Linked DNA regions of Homo sapiens: all the other regions are linked to region 1. Evidence: promoter capture Hi-C in 16 types of primary human blood cells and fetal thymus (Javierre and others, 2016). All regions are on one chromosome and are shown on one strand. The core of a region is centred on a gene start or on the middle of the fragment in contact, and the rest is flanking DNA. Distances in the headings are between cores, read along the strand shown.

The links. The method cuts DNA at HindIII sites, captures the fragments that hold promoters and counts their contacts. A CHiCAGO score of 5 or more calls a contact.
Region 2: a fragment that was not itself captured here is called in contact with the fragment with the promoter of COMMD9 in region 1 in 2 of 17 cell types (endothelial precursors and M1 macrophages); the score reaches 5.6 in endothelial precursors.
Region 3: a contact is called between a fragment that was not itself captured here and the fragment with the promoter of COMMD9 in region 1, in 1 of 17 cell types (endothelial precursors). The highest score is 5.2, in endothelial precursors.
Region 4: a contact is called between a fragment that was not itself captured here and the fragment with the promoter of COMMD9 in region 1, in 1 of 17 cell types (monocytes). The highest score is 5.3, in monocytes.
Region 5: a fragment that was not itself captured here is called in contact with the fragment with the promoter of COMMD9 in region 1 in 4 of 17 cell types (total CD4 T cells, naive B cells, naive CD4 T cells and 1 more); the score reaches 7.0 in total CD4 T cells.
Region 6: a contact is called between the fragment with the promoter of FJX1 here and the fragment with the promoter of COMMD9 in region 1, in 16 of 17 cell types (M1 macrophages, naive CD8 T cells, erythroblasts and 13 more). The highest score is 16.7, in M1 macrophages.
Region 7: a contact is called between a fragment that was not itself captured here and the fragment with the promoter of COMMD9 in region 1, in 10 of 17 cell types (activated CD4 T cells, naive CD4 T cells, non-activated CD4 T cells and 7 more). The highest score is 9.8, in activated CD4 T cells.

Annotation. Positions count from the first base shown.
Region 1 is chr11:36,287,739-36,291,525 of GRCh38, forward strand. It overlaps COMMD9 (COMM domain containing 9), which reads right to left and starts at 1,686. Exons shown (of 6, transcript NM_014186.4): 1 at 1,624-1,686. The coding sequence starts at 1,674. RefSeq lists enhancers at 1,048-1,750, 1,587-1,836. The HindIII fragment of the contact is 8,947 bases long and covers 1-2,003 here.
Region 2 is chr11:35,486,436-35,490,222 of GRCh38, forward strand. The region is part of intron 3 of PAMR1 (peptidase domain containing associated with muscle regeneration 1); the gene reads right to left. Among named protein-coding and RNA genes, the nearest start is that of PAMR1, 37 kb to the right of the region's middle. The HindIII fragment of the contact is 1,017 bases long and covers 1,155-2,171 here.
Region 3 is chr11:35,550,044-35,553,830 of GRCh38, forward strand. No RefSeq gene overlaps it. Among named protein-coding and RNA genes, the nearest start is that of PAMR1, 26 kb to the left of the region's middle. The HindIII fragment of the contact is 934 bases long and covers 1,166-2,099 here.
Region 4 is chr11:35,575,985-35,579,771 of GRCh38, forward strand. No RefSeq gene overlaps it. Among named protein-coding and RNA genes, the nearest start is that of FJX1, 41 kb to the right of the region's middle. The HindIII fragment of the contact is 346 bases long and covers 1,446-1,791 here.
Region 5 is chr11:35,598,111-35,601,897 of GRCh38, forward strand. No RefSeq gene overlaps it. Among named protein-coding and RNA genes, the nearest start is that of FJX1, 18 kb to the right of the region's middle. RefSeq lists an enhancer at 546-775. The HindIII fragment of the contact is 7,647 bases long and covers 1-3,787 here.
Region 6 is chr11:35,615,923-35,619,709 of GRCh38, forward strand. It overlaps FJX1 (four-jointed box kinase 1), which reads left to right and starts at 2,538. Exons shown (of 1, transcript NM_014344.4): 1 at 2,538-3,787. The coding sequence starts at 2,715. RefSeq lists silencers at 2,126-2,215, 2,246-2,575, 2,397-2,558, 2,656-2,725, 2,746-3,005 and 1 more and enhancers at 2,858-3,492, 3,493-3,787. The HindIII fragment of the contact is 8,334 bases long and covers 1-3,787 here.
Region 7 is chr11:35,634,895-35,638,681 of GRCh38, forward strand. No RefSeq gene overlaps it. Among named protein-coding and RNA genes, the nearest start is that of FJX1, 18 kb to the left of the region's middle. The HindIII fragment of the contact is 5,185 bases long and covers 1-3,787 here.

The DNA.
Region 1 (3,787 bases), core at 436-2,935:
GTTAAGTTCAAACATGGGCAATATTAAATGAATTGTATCAGAAGCAAACATAGAGGTTACCATTGGGGAAGAAAGTGAGGAAGCAAAGAAAGGGCGAAAGGGGGACTTCTGGGGTACTGGTAACATTTCATTTTTTGACTTTGGTGGTGGTTACATTGGTGTGTAATAAATCATTTAACTGTAAATGTATGGTTTATGCACTTTTCTGTATGTATACTACACACTAATCTTTTAAAGTTTTTAAAAGAAAAGAGTGCATAAGACCAACAGGTATAGGGGCGGGGGTAGGTACAGAGCAGCCAAAATGAAGGTGAAAAGGCACTGGGTTGGGAGCTGAGAGCCCTAGATTGCCAGTCCCAGCTCTGTTACTTCATTTATTAATTCATTTAACAGCTATTTACTGAGCACGTGCTGTGTGCCAGGTATTATTGTTCTACTTATTGGGCATTAACACTTGTGAACAAAAGAGTAGATCCCCTTAGGAGTGGAGAATGCTAATGAACACTGAGAAGGCAATTAAAAAATAAATAAGTAAAACAAAACAGAGACTATTACATGGACCGATGATGATGATGTGCCATAAATTGAGGAGAGTAACTCAACCCTCTTCACCTGGTGTTTAAAAAAAAAAAAAAAGAGAGAGGAAGAAAGGAAAGGTCCCTGATGGATCTTACATTCTTATGAGACAGACGGACAACGGGCAAATAGCTAGCGACAAGTTCTACGAAGGAAAATAAAGCTGCCCTTTCTCCTACAGGGCAAATCATAAGTTAAATAATTCCGGCCAGGCGCGGTGGCTCACGCCTGTAATCCCAACACTTTGGAAGGCGGAGGCGAGTGGATCACGCGGTCAGGAGTTCAAGACCAGCCTGGCCAAGATGTTGAAACCCCGTCTCTACTAAAAATACATAAATTTGCCAGGCTTGGTGGCGGGCGCCTGTAATCCCAGCTACTCGGAAGGCTGAGGCATAGAATTGCTTGAACTCGGGGGGCGGAGGTTGCAGTGAGCCGAGATTGCGCCACTGCTCTCCAGCCTGGACAACAGAGCTAGACTCCGTCTCAAATAATAATAATACTTCATTTGAGCTTTACAAAGCCCTATGAAGTAGGTCCCTTTCAACCTCACAACTTTTCAAATGATTATCAGGAGTATGTCCTGCCCCTTTCGCAGGTCAAAGAGAGTAGGGAAAATCTGGACCTCAAGGGAACATTGAACGCACAGGTCATTCGGAGGGCTGGGCAGACGCAGTAGGAGATAATTTCTTAATTGTGCAATGCAGGAGGGGCTACGGGATGAAATGGGGAACTGACAACGTGGGTCTAGCAATTACCACTTCAATGCACCAATACCGAAAACCAATCCCAAAGACTAATAGCAGGAGGTTGTACTGCGCCTTCATGCCCATTATTTTATTTTTTTTTATCTTACGTTCCTGTCAAAACGATATTTTGTTCTTACTTTTTAAAAGCTCAGAAAGACGCAACGATTTGCCTGGGATCACACAGAGAACAAGCAGCAGAGTTGTGGCTCCAAACCAGGGTCAATTTGTTCCCAATTCCTGCTCCGTCTAAAGTCTCGGAGACAAAGGGCCACCTCACGCTGTCCCCACCCCTTCGACTTACCTTGAGCAGGCTCTGGAGTGCTGCAAAATGCTCCGCTGTCAGGGCAGCCATCTTGCCGAAGTCACATGACCGTGGCACCCAGGGAAGCGAGGTCACGTGGCTGTCGCTGTTGTCGCGGGGCCTGCCGGGGGCTGTAGTCCTTCAGAGTGGGGGAAGGCGTTTCGGTTGTGGTGCTGCGGCAGTGAGCGCGGATCAAGACGGACGCGGCGGCTGGATGACTAAACCCCGAGACTCTAGAACCAAAGGACTAGGGGGACCAGGGCGGAGGATGGTTTACTCGGGGAGGAAATTGGCTTGACTTGTCTACTTACCAAGTCAGGGAAACAGGTTTTCCCTTGACCCATGTGGGTGGGCTGGCGCACTTGGGGAATGCACCTGCAAGCTTGGCAGGCGCCTTGGAAACGTAGTTGTTCAGGAGTGATCGGCGTACCAGTGTTTGGAATGAAAATGAGGCTGTGCATATCGGGCTTCTTGGAATTGACACACACACATGCACACATCCTGTCTTGAATGTAAAATTACTTCTGCGTATATAGTTTTTCAGCCTATGTAGTAGGTTGGAGCTGGTATTATTAGTATTATCCAGATTGGGAAATAATCATTTAGGGTTTTTAGTAACTTTCCCATAGTCATAGAGAAGATCTGATTACAAGAGCAGGTGAGGAAGTGTTTGGGAGAGGGGACAAGAGAGGAATGGAATGAAAGCTACTACCTAGCTAGGTTCTTGTTATACGGGGGTGAGATGGGGGAGGAGGTTAATGGAAATGATTTAGTTCATTTATTCAAAAAGGTAATTATAATGAATATAATTGTAAAGAGTGATTTTGCACTGGCAGTACTGGACTCTGATTTGCCCTGTTCTCAGAGACCGTACATCAAAACAGACATTTCCTTTATCTACCTTTAGTATTTGGGTGGCTCTTTTCTTTTCCTACCCTCCACTTTTTTTTAAGCAAATTCCAGCTCAAAAAATGGGTTCTGATATATTCGAGCTTAAGAAAGAATGCCCATTTGTGAAATTCCAGAAATTGGTAAGCTGCTAAGGACATTTGTTCCTTTGTCTCCTCTCCTCCCCCTTCCCCTTCCCCGACTCCATTTTCTGTGGGGATGTTGTCAAGGCCCAGGAAACCAAAAATCAAATTGTCTAAGGAGGAACCCATTCCTGGATTAGAAGATTTTAGAACCATTTTGTCACAGGGTCCTGATTCTAGCTCTCTTTCTTGGCCTCTCTTTTCCATGAACCCTCATGGCCTGATTCCTGGTTTCTGTTATAACTCAATGTAGGTTCTAGGTTTAACTCCTGCCTGTATCTATAGGGCTGGGCCCATTGTCTTGGGTTAATTGAATATTTGTTAAATAAACAACCACCCAAAAAAGTGATTAGACTAAGATGAAATTTTGTGACTTATTTGAGGATATTGCCTTGGTATTTGCAGGATTGTGCCTTCTTGTCTTACTTTAGAGTAATGAGGAGTGTGGTCACCAGCCTTCAAGATGGCCCTCAATGATCCCAGCCTCCTGGTGTTCACAACCTAGTGTAGACACCTCCCACCATGTACCAGGATTGGTATGCATGACCAATAGCAAATGGTGGGTGTGAATGGCATATCACTTCTGAGATTAGGTTATACAAGACTGCACCAAAAAACTAACAAAAAGACTGAAGTTCCTGTCTCCTGGCTTGGGTGCTCTCTCATGTGCCCTGCTCTCTTTCACTTGAATCCTTTGCTCTGGGGAAAGCAAACTGCCATGTTGTAAACAGTCCTACAGAGAGGCCTAGGTGACAAGGAACTGAAGCATCTGGCCAACAACTTCATTACTGACCTGAGAAGCAGATTGTCTAGGCCCAGTAGAGCCTTAAGAAGGCAGGAGTCTTGGCCAACAGCTTAACTGCAACCTCATGAGAGATTCTGAGCCAGCACCACCCAGCGAAGCCACGCCTGGATTTCTGGCCTTCAAACACTATTAAGATTATCAATGTTTGTTGTTTTAAGCTATGAAGCTTTGAAGTAATTTGTTATACAGCAATAGTAACTAATGCATGGTGGCAGCAAAGCATAGGGGTTTTAGAATTCAACCTGAGTTGGAATCCTAATTCTACACATTATTAACTTTTCCGTGTACAAATTCTTGAACTTCTCTGGGCCTCAGTTTCCACCTCTGT
Region 2 (3,787 bases), core at 413-2,912, 800 kb before region 1:
CATTGTACATCCAGCACCTAGAAGCATCCATTCAAGAAATATCTTTTGACTGGATGGGTAGATTAATGCACGAAGGTGTGAGCTCTCTGTTCTGCCTGCCTAGGTGATAGACTGGTTGCTCTGAGCCAGTTCTGCTGTCCTTGAGAAAGCCTGGACCCTCAAATGGACACAATCACCAGCCCAATCAATGAGGCTCCATAAACAGCGTCTTACACCAAGGTGCAACCCAAGATTTGACCAGTAGGTGCTATTTAAAAAGACACATGCTCAGGATTTCTGAATATTAATATTTTCTGTTTCATAACATTTGGGTGACTGCTATCCTTGTTTTGTTACCATTTGCTGTATTGACTTCTTGCATGCAAATATTCTTTCCTTCCTGTCCCCTGCACCCTGAACAAACCCCCTTACTCACATGGAGCGACTGAAGTATTGTTTAGAAATATTTATCCACCCCTCTTCCTTTGGGATGGCATATACTTCCCTACTTCACTCATTGGGAACTTAGCCATGTGACTTCTTTTGGCCAGTGGAATATGGGTGAGTGTGATGTGCGCAGAGGCCTTATGTGCACCTGTGTGTTTGGCTTGACCTCTTGTGCTTCTGCGACCCACCCTGAGAAGAGCATCCCCTGATGGTTGCTGTCCCTTCTGCCTAAGCCCTGCAGCCTGGAGCACAACCAGCCCAGGTCAGCCCAGTTGAAATCAGTGGAATGCCTGCCAACTCACAGACCCATGAGAAAGAACAAACATTTGTCCTTTGAGATTGTTAGTTACCCAGAAAAAAAAAAAAAAAACTGAACACTTTATCACCACCATCCCTGAAAGCTTCAACTTAGAAACTCTACTCTCTGACCATAATACCCATTCCACCTATGTGTTCCATTACTTCATTACCACCAAGCCTGCTTTTCCACTTAAGACCTCCTGTCCCTATTGCCCCTCTACCAGGCTCTTTCTGATTTCATGTCCTTCCCAGCTGGGATCCTTGGTCAGTCATGTCTCAGCTTATTCTTGGATCAACAAAACAACTGGTTTTACTCCCTTCTGCTGCTGCACTTCCAGAGAGCATCAGCCAACGTCCTAACTGACTGCATCACCTCCCTAGGAACTCTGGCTTCGACTGGGTCCTCCGTCTCGCTTGGATATGCTTTAAGCTTAACACCAGCTGGTGCCTTTTCTTGTTCCTCAAGTGGCTGCCCCAAACCTTTGGTACTTTCAAGCCCCAACCTCACTTCTACTCATTCTCAGCAGATATTTCACTCCCTACTTCCCAGAGAAAACGGGAGAACTCACCAGCAGGAGGCAGACTAGGACTGTGGTTAAGAACAAGAGTAAGGGGTCTGGAATCGTCCTGGGCTTTACCCCAAAGTGTACGGCCTCAGGCAAGTTACTTCACAGCTCTGAGCCTCAGTTTCATTATCTATAAAATGGGAGTATGTATTTTCATAGGGTGATTGTACAGATGAAACAAGACATGGCACATAAAGTGCTCAGCACAGTTCCTACCATATAATTACTAACAAACAAGATATGCTACCTATAAATAATTCTTTTCCTCCTGTCTCAGCCTAGGACAGAAAAGGAAGCTCCCTCTCCTTTAACTCTCACTTTTGTTCTTGATCTCATAGGAAGTTCTTCTCCTTCAGGATAACATGGTCTTAACTTCTTCAGTTAGTCTTACTCTAATATGTAATATTTTTAATCTCTCCTACTGACACTTTACTCACATTAGCTTAAAACCTGTTTAACCCTTTCCCATCTTTTTTTTTTTTTTTTTTTTTTTTGAGAGAGAGACAGAGATGAGGTCTTGCTCTGTTGTTTAGGCTGGAATGCAGTGGTGTAATCATAGCTCACTGCAGCTTCAAAATCCTTGGCTGCAGAAGCGATTCTCCCTCCTCAGTCTCTTGAGTAGCCAGAACTACAGGCATGCACCACCATGCCTGGCTGAATTTTTTTAATATTGTGTAGAAACAGAATCTTGTTTTGTTGATCAGTCTGGCCTTGAACTCTTGTCCTCAAGTAACCTGACTGCCTCATCCTCCCAAAGTGCTGGGGTTACAGGTATGAGCCACTGCACCCGGCCTTTCCCATCTTAATTGGTATTTTTCCACAGCTGTTTATTTACTCATATAAACTATCACCTTAATTCTCCCCTTCCTTGCTTGATTAAGCTTATTTAAAAGAAAGTTGTCTGTATTCTTTTTGTCCATTTTTCACACTTCAAATCTTGCCTTTTTTTTTTTTTTTTTTTTTTTGGAAACTGTCTCACTCTGCCCAGGCTAGAGTGGCAGTGGCATAGCTAATTTTGTATTGTTTGTAGAGACAGGGTTTCACCATGTTGCTCAGGCTGGTCTCGAACTTCTGGGCTCAAGTAATCCACTGCCTTGGCCTCCCAAAGTGCTGGGCTTTCAGGCATGAGCCACTGCGCCCTGCCAAATTTTATATGAAACTGCTATTGCTCAGGTCACCAATCGCATGCTAGCCATCAAACACAAAAACCTCTTTACTGCCTTCATCCTATGTGACCTTTCTGCCTTTGAAACACTGCCCCCAGCTTCCAGAACCCTACTCCTTCCTGGTTCTCCTCCTATCTCTCTATCTTTTCCCATCTCCTTCCTGGTTTTCTCTTCCTTTCCTTTTACATCTGTTGCTATTTCCTCTGCCCATGGTGCTCTGTTCACCTCATGCTTCCATCTATAACAGCCATAGGCATATCTCAAGTCTCCAAAATTCTCTTGAGCTCCAGGCACTTATTTCCTACTGTCTGCAGAGTCTCTTATAGATGTCCAAATTCCAGCTTATCTCATGTGGAACTCACCTTCTTTCCCCCACCAAACCTCTTCCCTTTTATTACTCACTTAACAGCATCAACTTCTAGACAGTTAATCAAACTAAGAATTTGAAAGGCAAACTCTTGAGATTCCTTACCCCATTCTTCAGTGAGTCTTGAGTCCTGTCACTCCTTCCTTTAAGCTCTTCTCACTCTAGTCTCCCTTCTTCATCCCCTGAAGCGCTGCAATCGCACTCCTAATGGCTACCTTTGGATATGGTCTTCCTCCACTCCAGCGGAGTTATGCTACAAGAGTTATCTGTCAAATGGTACTCCCCAGATTAAACCATCCTTCATCTCAGAACCATGTCTAAGCTCTGAGCCCTGGAACACTATGCCCTTCATAGTCAGGGCTTGCCACCCCAAGACCATCACCTTGCTCTAATCATACCTCATGTCACATGCTTCCTTGAACACACCTTGCATTTTCACACCCTGACCATACTATCCCTCTCCCTGAAATATCTTCCTGCTCTGCCAACTGAAGAGCAAAGGCATAGCTCAACCTTCACTTCCTGTCTGAAACCTTACCTCCCTCTCCCTGTCATTAACTGTTCTGTTAGCTAGTTCTCAGAGCACTTGGTCCATCCTCTACTTCACCACTCTTCCTTGGTTCCCCACTGCACTTGCAATAGCATCTAAATTCCTTACCTAGCTTACCTACCTACAAGGCTGTATTAATCTGTTCCCACACTGCTAAGAAAGACATAGCTGAGACTGGGTAATTTGTAAAGGGAAGAGGTTTAATGGACTCACAATTCCACATGCTGGGAAGGCCTTGCAATCATGGCAGAAGGCAAGGGAGAAGCAAAGGCACATCTTACATGGCAGCAGGCAAGAGAGCTTATGCAGGGGAACTCCTGTTTATAAAACCATCAGATCTCCTGAGACTTATTCACTACCATGAGAACAGTATGGAGGAAACTACCCCTATGATTCAATTATCTCCACCTTG
Region 3 (3,787 bases), core at 383-2,882, 740 kb before region 1:
TCTCACCAGAGGGCTTCAGCCTGCCTGTAACTTTGTCTCTTCTGTAGTGCCAAGAGACCACAGTTACCACTCACCAGGGATGTGGCTACAACCAAGCAAGAGTATCTTAAGAGCAGTAGTTGTCAAATGTGGCAGATTCTATCCAACCATTCCTGAATTCCAAGTCAGTCTTTACTATGACCACACTAAACCACTCTGCTTTATATTAGGTTGGTGTGAAAGTAACTGTGGTTTTTGCCTTTATTTAAAAAAAAAAAAAAAGATAATTGCAAAAACCGCAATTACTTTTGCAGCAATCTTTAACCAGCCTCTGAATTTGAAGCTAAAGGACTCTGACTTGAACACTGCATATGCACACTGACACCTGTGTAGCCTTGGAAATGCCACAACTCTGAATCTCAGCCTCTTCATCTGTGGAGTGGCATTGTACTTGGACACCCCAATCCTTGCCACATCTCTGAGATCTAACTTGATGCCACTCCCTGTTTGCTTCTTCCTTTTGAACAAATCCATGTTGATGGTCCCTGGCTTTAAATTTTGGTTCCTCTCCATATCACTGAGTCACCCATTCTCTCTTAAATTGCACACCAGCCAAAGCTCATGGTTAACTCCTAACCAGCCCTTATCAGAGTCCAGGTGTTTCCATGGAGATGGATATTGGAGAGTAATTGTGCACCAAAGGATCTGTCATTTTTTTTCTGTGCAGCCAAACTTTGGAGGGTGGCAGATGATGGTCAAGTGACCTTTGGCCCTGAAACCCAAGAATTAGTTCTGTGAGGAGGCAAGGGGACTGTTGAAGAGAGTAGATTCGATGACATGGCCAGTTCCCAGGGCACCAAATACACCTGGCAAGTTTGCATGCTGCATACAGGCGCCCAGGCTAGGGGACAAGTGGAGGCTGGAATCCAGCCCAGCTTCTACTGACCACGCCATGTGCCCATGGCTACATTCACCCAAAGGGGGTATCTTTCAGTAGATTGCACAAATGTACCCTACAAAGAATCCTAGCAGGTCCTGGTACATGTTAGGGCTCAGTAAAGGTTAATTGAATATTAAATTCTTTATTATCCATACAGACAGAAAATAGAAACCATTATGGCTGAAATCATCATAATCTCAACCTACTTCCCTGGGGAAGCAACACAGCAAAGTAATTAAAAGCAGAAGCTTTGGAGTTAGCCCAGGGTTTGAGCCCCAGTTCTGCCACAACTGTGCTGAATGATCAGAAGCAAGATGGGTAACTTCTCTGAGTTTCCATTTCATCATCTGTACAAGGGGAATAATTTGGGAGGATTAATGGTGACTATCATAACTACTATCTCCTGAATACCTCCTGTTTCAAGTGCTCTGGGATCTAGCTTTACAGGGAAATAGACCTAAGCTCAACAGAGGTAATCAAACATTCATTATTGTAATTGGTATTTATTAAAGTTCTAATGTGTTCTAGGCTCTGGAGGGCTTATGCCATCTATTGAGAATTTTCTATTTACCAGATAATGTGCTAAGCACTTTGTACACGTGGTCTCATTTATACCCACAACCGCCCTAGGAAGCAGGTACTATTATTATCTGCTTGCAGGGAACTTACAAACTAGTTAAGAAAGCAGTTGAGATTTAGAGCGTAACAAGATAGGATAGTATGCGCCAGATTGTGGGGTGATCCTACAGGGCTTCCCTCACCTAGGAGGGCTCCTCAGCCCTGGGAGCCTCCATTATGGATATACAGGGACAGCCCCAGAGTCACCCATTCATTCCTGATGCTGCCACGTAAAGTGGCACCAAAAACAAAGGTGAGCAAAACATGGACCCTTCCTCAATTTGCCACGACCTAGAGTGGAATTCCTGAATAAGTAAGCTCTGATAGAAAATTATCTCTGCTACACGTGAGCTTCTCTCCCACAGTTGTCCTTCTGGGTCAGCAAATTCATTTTTCTCTGACAGATGTGTTTTTATAAAGTGGTAGAAATAAAGCTCTGGTCAAAGTCGGGAGTGATATCAGCTGGGAACAGTGCTGGTCATTCTGAAGAAGCTAATTAACCAATGTAACATTCCTATCAATGACCACTCTCCAGTCCTGCTTGTTGAATTATTATAGATGAAGCTTCCTGGGGTAAGGAAAAATAGGTTTGGCATTCTGTTCAAGCATCATAACCACCCCCAGCCCTATATAAGGCCTCAAACAGTTCAGCCTGATTTTTGATGATGATAGGCATATCTTGGACCTGTAAATATTCTAGGACCAGGACCTCCTCCAGCCCCTATATAACTCCAAGACCCTGTTGGCTGCTACTAGTGTATATTTGATTGTCAGACTCCTCACATTTAGCAATACTTGTGCAAACTTATGCTCCAAGATAGCCCCAGAAACTGTTATATTCTGGGAGTTCTGCCTCTACCAAATCCCCAGCCAATTAAAAGGCCACTGTTTACATTACCTTCTCACAGAATTAATTCTTGGGCCTCAGAGTGAAAGATCACTTGACCATCATCTGCTACCCTCCAAAATTTGGTCACACAGACAAACAAGGACAAATGCTTTGGTGCACAATTACTCTCCAATATCCATCTCCACAGGGACACTTGGGACTCCGAGAAGGACTGGTTAGGAGTTAACCATGAGCTTTGGTGGTGTGAAATTTAAGAGCCAAAATTTAAAGCCAGGGGACCATCAACATGGATTTGTTCAAAAGAAAGAAGCAAACAGGGAGTGGCATCAAGGAAGAATGCGGAGATATGGCAAGAATTGGGGTGTGGAGGGGTGCTAGGCATTGAAGCCACCCGAACAGAGCAGGAAGCACTCTGCTTGGACATTCTTGGCTTCTGTGTAAGTGATGAGGAAGCCATGAAGGTCTTTGAGTAGCTGTGGGCAGCATAAAGACCACTGAGTATTTACACACACTCAGTAATGGGAGGATCACCCTGATTGCCTTGCGGCAGAACTCATGTGCTTCTACAAACTCAGGTTTTCACGTATTGTATTTAGATTCCTAGAAAGTCAGAGACAGAAGGAGATATGGCTTGGACCTGTGTCCCTGCACAAATCTCATGTCGAATTGTAACCTCCAATGTTGGAGATGGGGCCTGGTGGGAGGTGATTGGATCATGGGGGTGGATTTCTCATGAATGGTTTAGCAACATCCTGTCTTGGTACTGTTCTCACGATAGTGAGTTCTCACAAGATCTGGTTGTTTAAAAGTGCATAGCACCTCCCACTTCTCTTCCTCTTCTTCCTGCTCTGGCTATGTGAAGTACCAGCTCCCCCTTCACCTTCCACCATAATTGTAAGTTTCCTGAGGCCTCCACAGAAGCCTGGTAGATACTACCATGCTTCCTGTACAGCCTGCAGAACCATGAGCCGGTTAAACCTCTTTTCTTCATAAATTACCCAGTATCTGGTATTTCTTTTTTTTTTTTTTTTTTTTTGAGACGGAGTCTCGCTCTGTCGCCCAGGCCGGACTGCGGACTGCAGTGGCGCAATCTCGGCTCACTGCAAGCTCCGCTTCCCGGGTTCACGCCATTCTCCTGCCTCAGCCTCCCCAGTAGCTGGGACTACAGGCGCCTGCCACCGCGCCCGGCTAATTTTTTGTATTTTTAGTAGAGACGGGGTTTCACCTTGTTAGCCAGGATGGTCTCGATCTCCTGACCTCATGATCCACCCGCCTTGGCCTCCCAAAGTGCTGGGATTACAGGCGTGAGCCACCGCGCCCGGCCTCTGGTATTTCTTTACAGCAATGTAAAAATGGCCTAATACAGAAAGAGAAATCACTCCACTGACTCCACACCATTT
Region 4 (3,787 bases), core at 369-2,868, 710 kb before region 1:
CAATTTCCCTGAAGTTCAAGATCAAGGCATTGGCAGATTTGGTTTCTCCTTGGAAAGCAGATGGCCATCTTCTCGCTGTGTCTTCACATGGTAGCCCCTTTCTGTATGTGTGCCCCGGTGTCTCTCTGTTTGTCCACATTTTCTTACAAAATTACCAATCAGATTGGATTAGAGCCCACCCTAACAGCCTCATTTTAATTCAATCACCTCTTTAAAGGCCCTGTTTCCAAATACAGTCACGTTCTGATGTGCTGGGGGTTAGGGCTTCAACATATGAATTTGAGGGGAGGACACAATTCAGCCCATAATGATAGCAAATAAATTTCAGTTATTTAAATTTGAGAATTTGGCAGACTTTTTATCAAAAATAAATAAAATGAGGCTGGGTGTGGTGGCTCACACCTGTAATCCCAGCATTTTGGGAGGCCAAGGCAGGCAGATCACTTGAGGTCAGGAGTTCGAGACCAGCCTGCTCAACATGGTAAAACCCCATCTCTACCAAAAATATAATAAATTAGCTGGGTGTGGTGGCATGCACCTGTAATCCCAGCTACTTGGGAGGCTGAGGCAGGAGAATCATTTGAACCTGGAAGGTGGAGGTCACAGTGAGCCGAGATCATGCCATTCTACTTCAGCCTGGGTGACAGAGCGAGACACCATCTCAAAATAAATACACAAATAAGACTCATCATTTCAAGAAAAGCAACTGACAGTATGTGTCGCCAATGATAAAATTTAAGCCTTCAACTGAAAATTAGAATTTGGAAAAATTTTATTTACTGCTATGAGCTTAATAGTTTCTCAATATTTAAGAGCTTTTCTAATGAAATCAGTGGTAATATTGACAAGTATGATTTTGTGATATTTTATAGTGAAATGTTTGAATATCTGGAATATATACATAACCTCAGTGAGCCAATATTTTCCACGATGTTACAAAATCATGCATGGGTAAAAGATCCCTTCAAATTTCAAGACAGACCAATGGATTTTATATAACAGGGTATGAAGAGTTCACCAATATGGTTTTAGTGAACCATATTAGTGAACTGAAAATAACCTTTAAGAAACTACCACTTAGCAAATTTTGTGTAGTATCAAAGGATAATATCTGCAAGCATGGTGGCTCACGCCTGTAATCTCAGCACTTTGGAAGGCTGAGACAGGAGGATTGCTTGAGTCCAGGAGTTTGAGTCCAGCCTGGGAAACATAGTAAGACTCCATCCATCTCTACAAATAAAAAATAATTAGCTAGCATGGTGGCATACACCTCTAGTCCCAGCTACTAGAGGAGCTGAGGTGGGAGGATCGCTTGAGCCTGGTAGGTCAAGGCTGTATTGAGCCATGATCACACCACTGCACTCCAGCCTGGGCAACAGAGCAAGATCCTACCTCGAATTACAAAATATAAGAATATTCACAATTATCTCAAAAGCCCATTAAAAAGCTTTTTCCTTCTCCAACTGTGTGTCTGTGCAAGGCCATATCTTCTTCATAAAATTCAACCAAAACAACATATCACAACAGATTAATTGCAGAAGCAGATATGAGAGTCCAGCTGACTCCTTTTAAGCCAGATATTTAAGAGATTTGCAAAAATATAAAGCAATGCGATTCTTCTGACTAACTGGTTTTCTGTTTTCAAAATGTTTTTTATTAAAAACGTTATTTCGTTAACATAATGCATTTGTTATTTTTAAATGAATCAACTGAAATTTTAATAAATGTTTTCTTATTCAGTTTTAATTTATCATATGGTAAATATCAGTGGATATAACCCACATAAACAAAAGCTTTTTGGAGGTCTTCATAAATTTTAAGAGTATAAGGAAGTCCTGGCCAGGCGCAATGTCTGATGCCTATAATCCTAGCACTTTGGGAGGCTGAAGAGAGTGGATTGCTTGAGGTCAGGAGTTTGAGATCAGCCTGGGCAACACAGGAGACCTGTATTAAATAAAAATACAAAAAAAATAACTGGGCATGGTGGTGTGCACCTGTGGTCCCAGCTACTTGGGAGGCTGAGGTGGGAGGATCGCTTGAGCCTGGGTGTAGAGGTTGCAGTGAGCCGAGATCACCTCGCTGCAGTCCAGCCTGAGTGACACAGTGAGACCCTGTCTCAAAACAAAACAAACAAACAAAAAAAGAGGTTCTAAGACCATAAAGTTTGAGAACCACTGATTTAATCGACAGTCATATTTTGAACATCTACTATATGCCAAATAGTGGGAACTTTATAACCACAGCTGTGGTATAAAAAAGAAAAGTCAGTCTTTCTCCTTAAGGAGCTCACATCTAGAAAAGGAGATGTTGAAACTAGGCATTACCATTCAGGACATAGGCATGGGCAAGGACTTCATGTCTAAAACACCAAAAGCAATGGCAACAAAAGCCAAAATTGACAAATGGGATCTAATTAAACTAAAGAGCTTCTGCACAACAAAAGTAACTACCACCAGAGTGAACAGGCAACCTACAAAATGGGAGAAAATTTTCCCAACCTACTCATCTGACAAAGGGCTAATATCCAGAATCTACAATGAACTCAAACAAATTTACAAGAAAAAAACAAACAACCCCATCAAAAAGTGGGCAAAGGATATGAACAGACACTTCTCAAAAGAAGACATTTATGCAGCCAAAAGACACATGAAAAAATGCTCATTATCACTGGCCATCAGAGAAATGCAAATCAAAACCAAAATGAGATACCATCTCACACCAGTTAGAATGGCAATCATTAAAAAGTCAGGAAACAACAGGTGCTGGAGAGGATGTGGAGAAATAGGAACACTTTTACACTGTTGGTGGGACTGTAAACTAGTTCAACCATTGTGGAAGTCAGTGTGGCGATTCCTCAGGGATCTAGAACTAGAAATGCCATTTGACCCAGCCATCCCATTACTGGGTATATACCCAAAGGACTATAAATCATGCTGCTATAAAGACACATGCACACGTATGTTTATTGCGGCACTATTCACAATAGCAAAGACTTGGAACCAACCCAAATGTCCAACAATGATAGACTGGATTAAGAAAATGTGGCACATATACACCATGGAATACTATGCAGCCATAAAAAATGATGAGTTCATGTCCTTTGTAGGGACATGGATGAAAATGGAAATCATCATTCTCAGTAAACTATCACAAGGACAAAAAACCAAACACCGCATGTTCTCACTCACAGATGGGAACTGAACAATGAGAACACATGGACACAGGAAGGGGAACATCACACTCTGGGGACTGTTGTGGGGTGGGGGGAGGGGGAGGGATAGCATTAGGAGATATACCTAATGCTAAATGACAAGTTAATGGGTGCAGCATACCAGCATGGCACATGTATACATATGTAACTAACCTGCACATTGTGCACATGTACCCTAAAACTTAAAGTATAATAATAATAAAAAATAAATAAATAAATAAAAAAGAAACATTATATAATCATAATAGATTTATTTGTGCACAAATGAAGGTGTGCAAAGGTGGCTCTGGGAAGAGGCTGGTATAGCCTTTAACTCTCTTGAAGCATCGCTATTTCCCTGAGACCTCCTCTGACTCCCCAAGCTGCAGGCAAAAGGATAAAGAGGAATCACACAGGGAGACATGGCAGGACAGAGCAGCCCAGGCTCAGAGAATTACAAGTTCACATAACCCAAGGCAAGAAAAAGCTGCTCTGCTCAGGGAAGAGCAAATGGTTGTTTAACATGGCGAGTGTGTGGACCACACAAGGATTAGCAGGTGGGGAGGCTAAATTCCTTTAAAAAGGAAAATAAATAGA
Region 5 (3,787 bases), core at 329-2,828, 690 kb before region 1:
CTACCACCTAGATACTCCAGCTAGCAGCCCCACCTACTCACTTACTGCAGAGCCCAAGGCCCTCCATCATCTTGCCCCGCCTGCTTCTCCAACCCCTTCCTCCTCCCCTCCCCATCTCTTTCCTCCTCTCTTTCTATTCACACTAACCTTCCTTCTGACCCTCAAACCTGGCAGATTTGTTCCCATCTCAGGGCTTTTGCCCTTGATGATCTTTCTGCTTGGAAAACTTCCCCCAAAAATTCATACATAGCTGTCCTTTTTCTCTCATTGAGGGCTCTGTTTATTGTCACCCCCTGCTACCGCCTTCTCTGACCTGCCTAGCTAAAACAGCCCCTCCCATATGCAGTCACTCTACATCACAGTACCTATTTTATCTTCTTGATGGCTCTTAGACACACCTTAAGTTATTTGTGTCTGCTTGGGATGTCTACTCCTACTGAAAGGGGACCCCTTGGGCACAGGGACTCTTCTTTGCTTACTGCTGTTTCCCAGCCTGGCACACTGCCTGGCTCTTAATAGGTACTCACAAAATATAGATTGACTAACAGACAAGTAGATAGCAGAGCTGGCACTCAAACCTGGGCAACCAACTGTTCCCCAGTTGCTGAGGGGTTTTCCAGGATATGTGACATTCAGTGCTAACACTGGGAAAGTCCCTGGCAAACCAGAAAAGTTGGTCATGCTAACTCAAACCCAGTTCTTCTAACTCTGGCCAGTGTTTCTTCCTCTGCCCCACCCCTGGGATTCTAGGACATCTCATGTAAAGTCAGAGACCTCATGCTTTACAACAGTGCCTGACACAAAGCAGGCAAATGACAAATATGTGTTGGATAAATGAATGGATGAAACGAATGAGTGAATGACCTGGCTCCCGTAAGTAGAAGCCAAACAGAATCTCCCTGTGTCAGCTTGTTTGAACCATGTGGCCTGGGTACTCTGCAGCATCATTCTGTGGGTATAACTAGTCATCTCAATATCCTAAGTTGTGAGCTATAATAAAGTCTTCAGGCAGTCCCCAGTTCATGTCTTTTGTTTACTCCACCCTCTGGCTGCTGGTTCTCAGCTATAGCTGCATTGAAGGGGCTTGGACACAAACAAAGAATCCAGAAAACTGATTCAGATACATTGGAATATTTTTTTCTCCTTGGAAATTTTTTTGCTTCTCGTTAGAATTTGTTGATAAACCCTGCAGTCCTGCACATGGGGATGGAAAACGGAGTGGATGCACAAAGGTAAGTTATGATGGCCTGATGGCCCCTTCTTAGCTGCAGCATGGAGCCACGAGAGTGGAAGAAGGCAAGTGAACATGCCCATGCTACAGTGGAACAAGTCTGGAACTTAACTGGGGAGGGGCAGAGAACAAAACAGACTGCTCTGGTAATCAGGTTCTGAGCCGAAAGGCAAGGAACAGTCTCCCCTCTGCAGTACACAAAAATACATGTTCAAGGCCTCAGAGTTTCTGCAGCTGCAGAGAGGATGGCTTTGGAACCCAAATGACCTGAGTCAAACTCTCAGCTCTGCAATTAACATATCAGTCACCCCTCTCTATCTGTGGGTTCTGTATCCATGGATTCAAAACTAAATGCAGATCTGAAATATTGGAGGAAAGATAAAAAATAATAAGACAGCAATTAAAAATATAAATTTTAAAATACAGTATAACAACTATTTTCATAGCATTTGCATTGCACTAGACATAAGCAACCTAGAGATTATTTAAAGAATACAGGAGGATGTGTGTAGGTTAGACACAAATACTACACCATTTTATGTAAGAGAGTTGAGCATCTGTGGATTTTGGTATCCACAGGGATTCCTGGAATCAATCCCCTGTGAACACCAAGGGACTGACTATACATATGTGACCTTCAGCAGATTATTTAACCCCTCCAAGTCTCAGTTTCTTCATCTGTAAATTGAGATTGTTGTGAGAACTGGAGATAATGGATGTAAAGCAATTGTCACGTAAGAGGCACTGATAAACAGTGGCTGTCTTTCTCATCATTACGTTAAAAGTTTATAACCAAGGGAGAGTTACTTGAGCCAAGGATAGTAGGTGGCTCTGTCCCTGGATAATGAACAATTATCAATGCAGTTATGCTTTAGGGGCTGGCTTTGGCATCCTCACGGTGAGGTGAGAGTCATGAGGCTGGTGGTTTAGGATGCTCGCAACATCGCCTGAGTAAACCCTTCCCCACCCTCCAGCACTAATTCCTGACTTTCATTTCAATTTAATAGATTTGGGTTTAACAAGATAATTATTATACTTGAAATAAATACTGACTGGCCAGAAATGCAATGCTTACTGCAAATTAGGAACAAAGAGGCCTCCTCAGTTACATCTCTGGTATATCTTAAACACAGCTTTTGAATAATTAATTTGCCATTTCGATAACACATAATAACCAGCCTATTAAGCCAAGAATCTTGCATTTATTAAATGCTAACTTAATGGCAAACAAACAAAACCTGAGTCAATAGTTGCTTTGCCAAATTTAAAAGCTCTCCTCCCTGAGGATTTGTGTGGGAGGCAGACCACATGGTTGGGGCGTGTGGATCTTAGGAGCAGGCAGTAGGAAACTGAAGGTGCATGCAGGAGGATATTCAAAACTCAGACTCTGCTCAGGTGGGAGGATATTACTAGGATCGTCTGGGGTAAGTGCCAAAGGAACCACCTGGATTTTCCACCAACGCTGTACCAAAGCCATAACATGTGTTTTTTGTTTGGGTTTTCTGAATGTTCTTAATGCCTGAAGATGGGGTCGGGTGCAGTGGCTCGCACCTGTAGTCCCAGGACTTTGGGAGGCCGAAGCAGGTAGATCACTTGAGCCCAAGGGTTTGAGACCAGCCTGGGCAACATGGCAAAACACCGTCTCTGCAAAAAAAATTAAAAATTAGCCAGGCGTAATGGCATGCACCTGCAGTCCCAGCTACCTGGGAGGCTGAGGCAGGATAATTGCTCTATCCCAGGAGGTTGAGGCTGCAGTGAGCCATGATGGTGCCACTGCACTCCAGCCTGGATGACAGAGCAAGACCCTGTCTCAGAAAAAAAAATGTTGAAAATGGTAGGGATCCCAATATTAGGATCTTTCAATCAAGAATAATTTAGAACTAAAGAATACAGCCCTTGTTGTAGTTAACTACACAGTACAGATGCGAACAATATGGGTTTCAATGAGGAAACAATTAGGATGTTATTGATTGCATATGAAAGCAACTCCAATTCCAAACAGTTTATACATTAAGAAAATTAGTTCTCACCCACAGGAAATTCAGAAATATATAGGCTTCTCCGTTGGGATTAAACCAAGCTGCATATAAAAGAAAACATTAAGTAACAGTAGCTTATGTAAGTTAGAAATTGCTAGCTTACATAGAGAAAGTGCTGTATTTCTCTCACATAAAAGAAGCCCAGAGAAAAACATTCAATAGCTGGTATGGCAGGACCCACACTCTCAGCACTACCATCTTCAGTATACGACTTGTATTCTCAAGTTAGCTTCATGGTCACATATTGGCTGCCATTATTCTAGCCATCATGCCCACCTTCCAAGAAGCAGGAAAGTAAAGAAAGTTAGGGCAAAAAGCCACATAACTTCCATTGACAAGGAAATCTAGAAAATGTGGTTTTATATCTGGGTACATTACTATACTTATCAATATAGATTTGGTGTTACTAAAGGAGAATAGAATGCCCACTGGAAAAGCAAGTCGCAGTTTCTGCTGCTGTAGGCTTCTAGGATGGGTTATTTAGTGACTCAGTCCAATCCTAAAGGACCCAGATTCT
Region 6 (3,787 bases), core at 1,288-3,787, 670 kb before region 1:
AGTTCTTATTTTGTATTCTTTAATCAGCTGAACAATAACTCACAACCGTTGGACAAAATTGTTTTGCATTATTTAGTAGTAAGGTATTTAATTTAAAAAAACTTGATACATGCTACTTGCATCTCATTAGCATTCTAACGATGTATTCAGCAAATTGTTGTTGAACACACACTAAGTGCCAGGCATTGTGCCCAGGCAGCCATAAAACAATGGACAAGACAGACTCCCCAGGAAGTTTACAATGGTAGTTACTTACAGCTTTTGTTAGCAGCCAAAAAGACAGAGACCCCAACTACTTTGGATTTCTCCATATCCCCTAGGACATAGCTTGGTACACAGTAGACATTTAATAGTCTTCCGAATTTAACTTCAACAATTAATCATCCAGTTAAAAATGTCTACTTTTCTCCAATTAGATGATACTCTACTTATGCCCACTAGGTGGCGATCTTGCTTATAGTTTGCCCACGCTGAAAGAGGCTGCCTTTCAAATAAATACATATATATCCCAGTAGAAGTTAAACCAAAAGACAAAAAAATTAAATTTATTGAGTGCTTATTTAGTGTAATATACTATGTTAGGTGGTATAAGAAATAAAAAAATAAGACATAGTCCCTGCCTGCTAGGGAAAGATGAGGAGGGGCTTACATAGGCCAAAAAAATAAGACCTTTGAATGGATTAATATATTTCGATGCAACCATATGGGAGCCATAGTAATCTCATTATCAGATAAGAGTTATAAAATGGCATGGTATAGCCACCATGTGGTTGGGAACAGATTCAACAGTTCATCCAGTATGTACTTAACCACACCAGTGAAAACACTTGACTGTATCCTGGGTCAGTGCTGCAATACTCCAAATGTGGTTTTTTGATGCCTCTGCTCAGCCATAAACATAAGAGTGTCTGCTTTATCACCCTGGAACGCTCTATCACCCTAGAACGTTTTTTCTTTGGAGAATAAAACATAATCAGTGCCAACTGATGAGGTAGTCCAGTTGAAAACCCCCATGTGCACCTGATGGGAAGATGAAAGGAGAGAAAAGATACACACCATGTAAGGAAACAGATTTCAAACTCTGGCCTTTGAGAGGTGGATTCCACCATGCCCCTGATCTTGTGTCTACCCTGGGAATCTCAGTGTGGATCTGGGACTCATTCTGATACAGAGAGGTAAGGGAGGGCCGACTGGCATCCAAGTTTTCCTGGTAAATGTAACCCAGAGGTGGCTGGAAGATGTGTTGGGGTGAAGAGGTTGTTCATTTTGTTTTCTTTGCTCCTTCACCACCTCCCTCCCCCACCACCACCACCATTTCTTTTTCCCTTAAATCGTAAAAGCAGTAAATCAAATGCAGTATGGGATTGAGGTTTTTTTCCTTTCCATTTGAAAAATCCTTTTAATTGAAAAATCACATTTGGGGAACAAAGTGGTCAAATGACAGTGAATTTCAAACTTGAGAATGCTGACTTGATTAAAAAAAAAATACTGATCTTTCTTAATGGAGGGAAAATCAAGTGCATGCGGCCAGGAGACCTGAGTTTGACTTTTAGCTTCGCCCCTTGCTAATTGTGCAATCCTGAGCAACACCCATCCCTTCTCTGTGCCTCAGTTTCCTCATGGACAAAACGGTATCATTTCTTTCGAAAAGTCGTCCCTGACTCCCCTCTCCCCAACACGAGGTTGGATGGCTATAATCTCTCTTAGCAACCTGAGAGTCCCACTGGAATGTAAATTTCAGCAGCACTGGGACCCGGATCTGTGGATTTTGCTTCTGGTAAGCAGAACCAGAACTGAGGGGCAGTCGCTGTGTTGAATGGATGCATGAATGAATGGGAGATGGCCTAGGTGTTCAAGGGGCACGTGCACAGCGAGGCTTCATTCCCTGGGAGTCCGTTGGGAAAGGCAGAGCGGCCAATACTGATTGGTGCTGATGTGCGAGCTCGGAAAAGGGAGTGTCGGTTCAAAGTTGTTGGCTACAGCGGGTTCCTCTTTCCGCTGGAATCACATCCTCTGTGGCTCGGAGACATTCCCAGAGATTTACATAAAGCAGCGTGAATCACCCAGACAGAAACTGAGAAAGCAAAGGGACCCTGCCTGATCCTAGCCTGGCGGAGCTCGGAAAGAGGTGGAAATCTGTCTGAAGTTTGCAGGAGACCCGCGCTGCCTAGGCAAAGGGACCCGGCGACCAAGACACCCCCGCGAGGGCCCAGGGCGCGTCCCTCCCGCCAGGCCCCAGACTCCGGCTCTGCGCCACCCCCTCCTACGCCCCGGCGCGGGCGCAGCCAGTCCGGCTTCCTCCAGGCCCCCAAGTCCCGGACCGAGTGTGGGGCCGCCTCTCCCTCTCGGAAGGAGCCATCGCCGCTTTAAGTGGAAGAGGAGAGGAAGGGGGCGGGGGAGCGGGGGGCGGGGAGCGGAGGCGGAGGAGGGGGAGGGGGATCCCCCTGGCTCCCACGTGGTCCGGGCGCCTGTGAATCGCGCCCACCGGAGGGTCTCACAGCGAAATACAAAAGCAGCTGGGAAGCGGCGGGGACTCGAGTTCCCAGCGCCGGGCGGAGCGCCGGACAGAGCCCCGCAGCGCCCCGCGGCCGCGATGGGGCCGAAGCGCCCGAAGCCCCGGAGCCCACAAACTGCCGGGCCCGCCTCGCCGCCGGGACCCGGGTGCCTGGGCTCGGCTTGAAGCGGCGGCGGCGCACCGGCACAGCCGCGGGAGCATGGGCAGGAGGATGCGGGGCGCCGCCGCCACCGCGGGGCTCTGGCTGCTGGCGCTGGGCTCGCTGCTGGCGCTGTGGGGAGGGCTCCTGCCGCCGCGGACCGAGCTGCCCGCCTCCCGGCCGCCCGAAGACCGACTCCCACGGCGCCCGGCCCGGAGCGGCGGCCCCGCGCCCGCGCCTCGCTTCCCTCTGCCCCCGCCCCTGGCGTGGGACGCCCGCGGCGGCTCCCTGAAAACTTTCCGGGCGCTGCTCACCCTGGCGGCCGGCGCGGACGGCCCGCCCCGGCAGTCCCGGAGCGAGCCCAGGTGGCACGTGTCAGCCAGGCAGCCCCGGCCGGAGGAGAGCGCCGCGGTGCACGGGGGCGTCTTCTGGAGCCGCGGCCTGGAGGAGCAGGTGCCCCCGGGCTTTTCGGAGGCCCAGGCGGCGGCGTGGCTGGAGGCGGCTCGCGGCGCCCGGATGGTGGCCCTGGAGCGCGGGGGTTGCGGGCGCAGCTCCAACCGACTGGCCCGTTTTGCCGACGGCACCCGCGCCTGCGTGCGCTACGGCATCAACCCGGAGCAGATTCAGGGCGAGGCCCTGTCTTACTATCTGGCGCGCCTGCTGGGCCTCCAGCGCCACGTGCCGCCGCTGGCACTGGCTCGGGTGGAGGCTCGGGGCGCGCAGTGGGCGCAGGTGCAGGAGGAGCTGCGCGCTGCGCACTGGACCGAGGGCAGCGTGGTGAGCCTGACACGCTGGCTGCCCAACCTCACGGACGTGGTGGTGCCCGCGCCCTGGCGCTCGGAGGACGGCCGTCTGCGCCCCCTCCGGGATGCCGGGGGTGAGCTGGCCAACCTCAGCCAGGCGGAGCTGGTGGACCTAGTACAATGGACCGACTTAATCCTTTTCGACTACCTGACGGCCAACTTCGACCGGCTCGTAAGCAACCTCTTCAGCCTGCAGTGGGACCCGCGCGTCATGCAGCGTGCCACCAGCAACCTGCACCGCGGTCCGGGCGGGGCGCTGGTCTTTCTGGACAATGAGGCGGGCTTGGTGCACGGCTACCGGGTAGCAGGCATGTGGGACAAGTATAACGA
Region 7 (3,787 bases), core at 692-3,191, 650 kb before region 1:
GTATCAGGCTCAAACAACCTGGCAGAAATGACAGTGAAAAGGTCCACAGATACACTCAACACAGACGTTTCCTATTTGAGTCTAAACTTTATTTTCTGTACATACATTCTAATTATTTATACCCCATCTACCATCAAAAGGGTAAAAGGTAGCTTGAAATAGTAATATCTTTTTTTTTTTTTTTTTTTTGAGATGGAGTCTTGCTCTGTCGCCCGGGCTGGAGTGCAGTGGCGCAATCTCAGGTCACTGCAACCTCTGCCTCCTGGGTTCAAGCAATTCTTCGGCCTCACCCTCCCAAGTAGCTGGGACTACAGGCACATGCCACTATGCCCAGCTAATTTTTGTATTTTTAGTATAGACGGGGTTTCACTATAGTGGCCAGGCTGTTCTCAAACTGCTGACCTTGTGATCTGCCCCAGCCTCGGCCTCCCAAAGTGCTGGGATTACAGGCATGAGCCACCACACCAGCCTCAAAATAGTAATATCTAACAATTATTGAGTACCTACCATCTACTATTTACATTTTATCTCATCTTCACAACAACCTTTAGAGAGAGGAATTGTTCCTGCCCATTTTGCAGATAAGGAAACTAAAGCTCACTAAAAGTTGATCTACCTCAGCCTACATAGCTAATAAGTGACCAAAGGAAGACAGATTTTTAAAAATCCTCTTTATTTCATTGATGGGGAAACAGGCACAGAGTGGTTAAGCAACTTGCCCCATGTGACGTAGTTAATTAGTGCTGATCCAAACCCCAGTCTATCTGCTACTGAAGCCCATGATATTCACACCATATCCAGTGACTTCTCCCTTTGAGTACATCCCCTTATGATGCAGCCAGAATTGATTTTCCTAGAAAGCCCTGTCTGGGACACTCAGGAAAATGACTCTGCCAAGTGACCATTGAAAAGCCAACTGCAATTCCACAGCTCAGAGGGCTGTCTCGGGACCTCCTGCCACTTGCTCATGACCCACAAAGTCCAACACTTTTCTCTCTGAAAAGCTCACCTCTCTGTGAAGATCACCAACAGGTTAAAAGCAATATCAAAAGAATGGGTTTATTTATCCAATAGTGGTTACTTCTGATCTTCTCCTGTGACTTCCCTATGGAGACTGGGCTGGATGGGGGAGATACCACACCAGAGTGCATGATTCTTCTTGTGTGTGATCTGAGTGGCTTTTGCCGGATGCATACACGACCCAACCTGACTGCCTTGACAGGTGTGATATGAATGAGATGCTCCGGTTATTGGTGATAATGAGACTTTTCAGTGTCTGTCAGTTACGGAACAATTCATGTCATCCAATGAACGGCATCTTCTCAGATAACTTGAGGCAGGGCTGCTGAAACATGGAACACTTTAAGGAAGTCATTGGTGCCGGTTCTGGAAGGGTTAACACACCCCAATGTGCCTGCCTTTGCTCTTCCAGCAGAGAGAGGAGGGGGTGGGCTGGGGGTGGGATGTGTCTCATTCAGACACATATCCATAGCAAAACAGTGGAGAAACAGTTTTAAACCATAATGCTCCCTGTTCTGGCTTGCATACTGATGTCTCTGGGATTACTTTTCCCTGCTCTGGCAATCTGTCACCTATAACTGGGGAGGAAAGGCAGGCATCAGAGAGCCTAAATGATTAAGCGGTGTAGTCTTGTAGACCTGCTGCCTTGCAGGTCCTTGACCTCATTAGGTCACTGATGGTGGGACAGTCCTGCAGAAACACCTGAGAATCTCTGAGGGTACCTCTCATCACCCCTTCTACTGCAAATAATATACACAAAGGACATCCAGCCTCAAAAAATTAAACCTAGAATTATCATAGGACCAGCAATCCCATTTCTGGGTATACACTCAAAAGAATTGAAAGAGGGGAATTAAACAGATATTTGCACACCAGTGCCCATAGCAGCATTATTCACAATACCCGAAAGGTGGAAATAACCCAATTGTCCACCAATGGATGAATGGGTAAACCAAATGTGCTGTATACATACAACCTTAAAATCATTCAGTCTTAAAAACAAATGAGTTTCTGACATATGTTACAATGTGGGTCAACCTTGAAGACCTTATGCTAACTGAAATAAGCCAGACACAAAAAGACAAAATGGTGAGATTCCACTTATATGAGGTACATAGAGTAGTCAAATTCGTAGAGACACAAAGGAAGATGGTGGTTGCTAGGGGAAGAGAAAAATGAGGAGTTATTTTTTAATGGGTACAGAATTTCAGTTGGAATAATAAAACATTTCTATAGATGGATGTTGGTGAAGGTTGTACAATAACGTGAATGTACTTAATGCCACTGAACAGTACACTTAAAAATGGTTAACATGGTAAATTTTGTTATGTATATTTTACTACAATTCAAAAAAAAAAGATACCTAGCACAGTGCATGTAGTCAGAGTACTTACAAATCACAAGGCAAATGAAAGAGAGCTGGGGTATTCATTGCCATAATCTATAAAGTATCCTACAAATGTTAGCTAAATGTGCACACTTGCTTTACCTTACTTATTCTTCAGGGAGGTATCATCAGCTTCTTTTGACAAAAGAGGAAATTGAAGTTCAGAGAAGTAAAGTAAGTTGCCCAGGTTCCATGGCAGTGATAGAGGGAAGATGTAAACTTTGATCTGCCTATCATCAAATACAGTGCAATTTACATACTGCAAAATGCCTTAAAGTGTACCCCCTTTTCAGGGTGTTCACATGCCAGAGAGTCAGAGGAAGACAAATTCATCTGTTCTATGAAACATGGGAGACTTACCCTCAGAATACTTTAGAATTGGCCAAAGTAGAAGAAGTCAACTTGTAATTTATAGAACTAAAGTGTATATCTGCTCTGATAATAGCTAAATAGAGAGAGACCTGGAGAACTTCCCTACTGAAGATCCAACATCTCTCATGTGTGGCTTTGGCTGGCTTTGTAAGAAATAGAATCAGAAAATTCAAAGCATTCTATTTATAATCAAGAGAGCCATGCCTCCATGACGTTGGTAATAACCACACCCCATTGGTAATAACCACACACCACTGGTTATTTTTCTAAACCTACTTGGAATAACTTACTTATCCCTGGCCAGATCTCTCTCTTAGTTTGAAAAAGGTAATGATGTGTTATTCTCGCTATGTTTTTCTCATAGGTTTGAAGATCTTGGGGCTGTGTACTTTTCCCAGGTATTTGTTCCACTCTTAATGTTTATGTTAGCATATACATTATAGTCTAAGCCAGGCCTGGACTACTTCAGCATAGTGGTTCAGATCATGAGCTCTAGGGTCTTACCACCTGAACACAAATCCTGGCCCTACCACCTACTAGTTATATGACCTTGGGCAAGTTACTTCATTTTTCAGTTACTCAGTTTCTTCATCTGTGATATGGGGACAATAATAGCATACACTTCATTGGATTATTGTGAAATGTACCTGCTCTAATAAAACTACCCACCAGGGTGCCTGGTTTAAAATAAACATACAAAGTATATTGGCCATCATTATTAATTTCTTTGAACACATCGATGCATCTTACTTCCCAAATTCTAATGATATGGAAAAGATCTAAGATCACTTATTTTCAGAAGTGCACCCACTACTATTTGAGGAGAGGGAGAGGCAGGAACTGGGAGGTGAGGAAAGCTGGCTTTGAACCAAGTATAAGCATCACACATTCTCCTCTGGTACCAATTACTGTGATAAATTGAAGGTGACAAGTTATTTTATGACATAAATGCAAATCAGCATTCGCTTCACTGTTATTTTCCAATGCCCTGGCACTTTAATGGTCCCC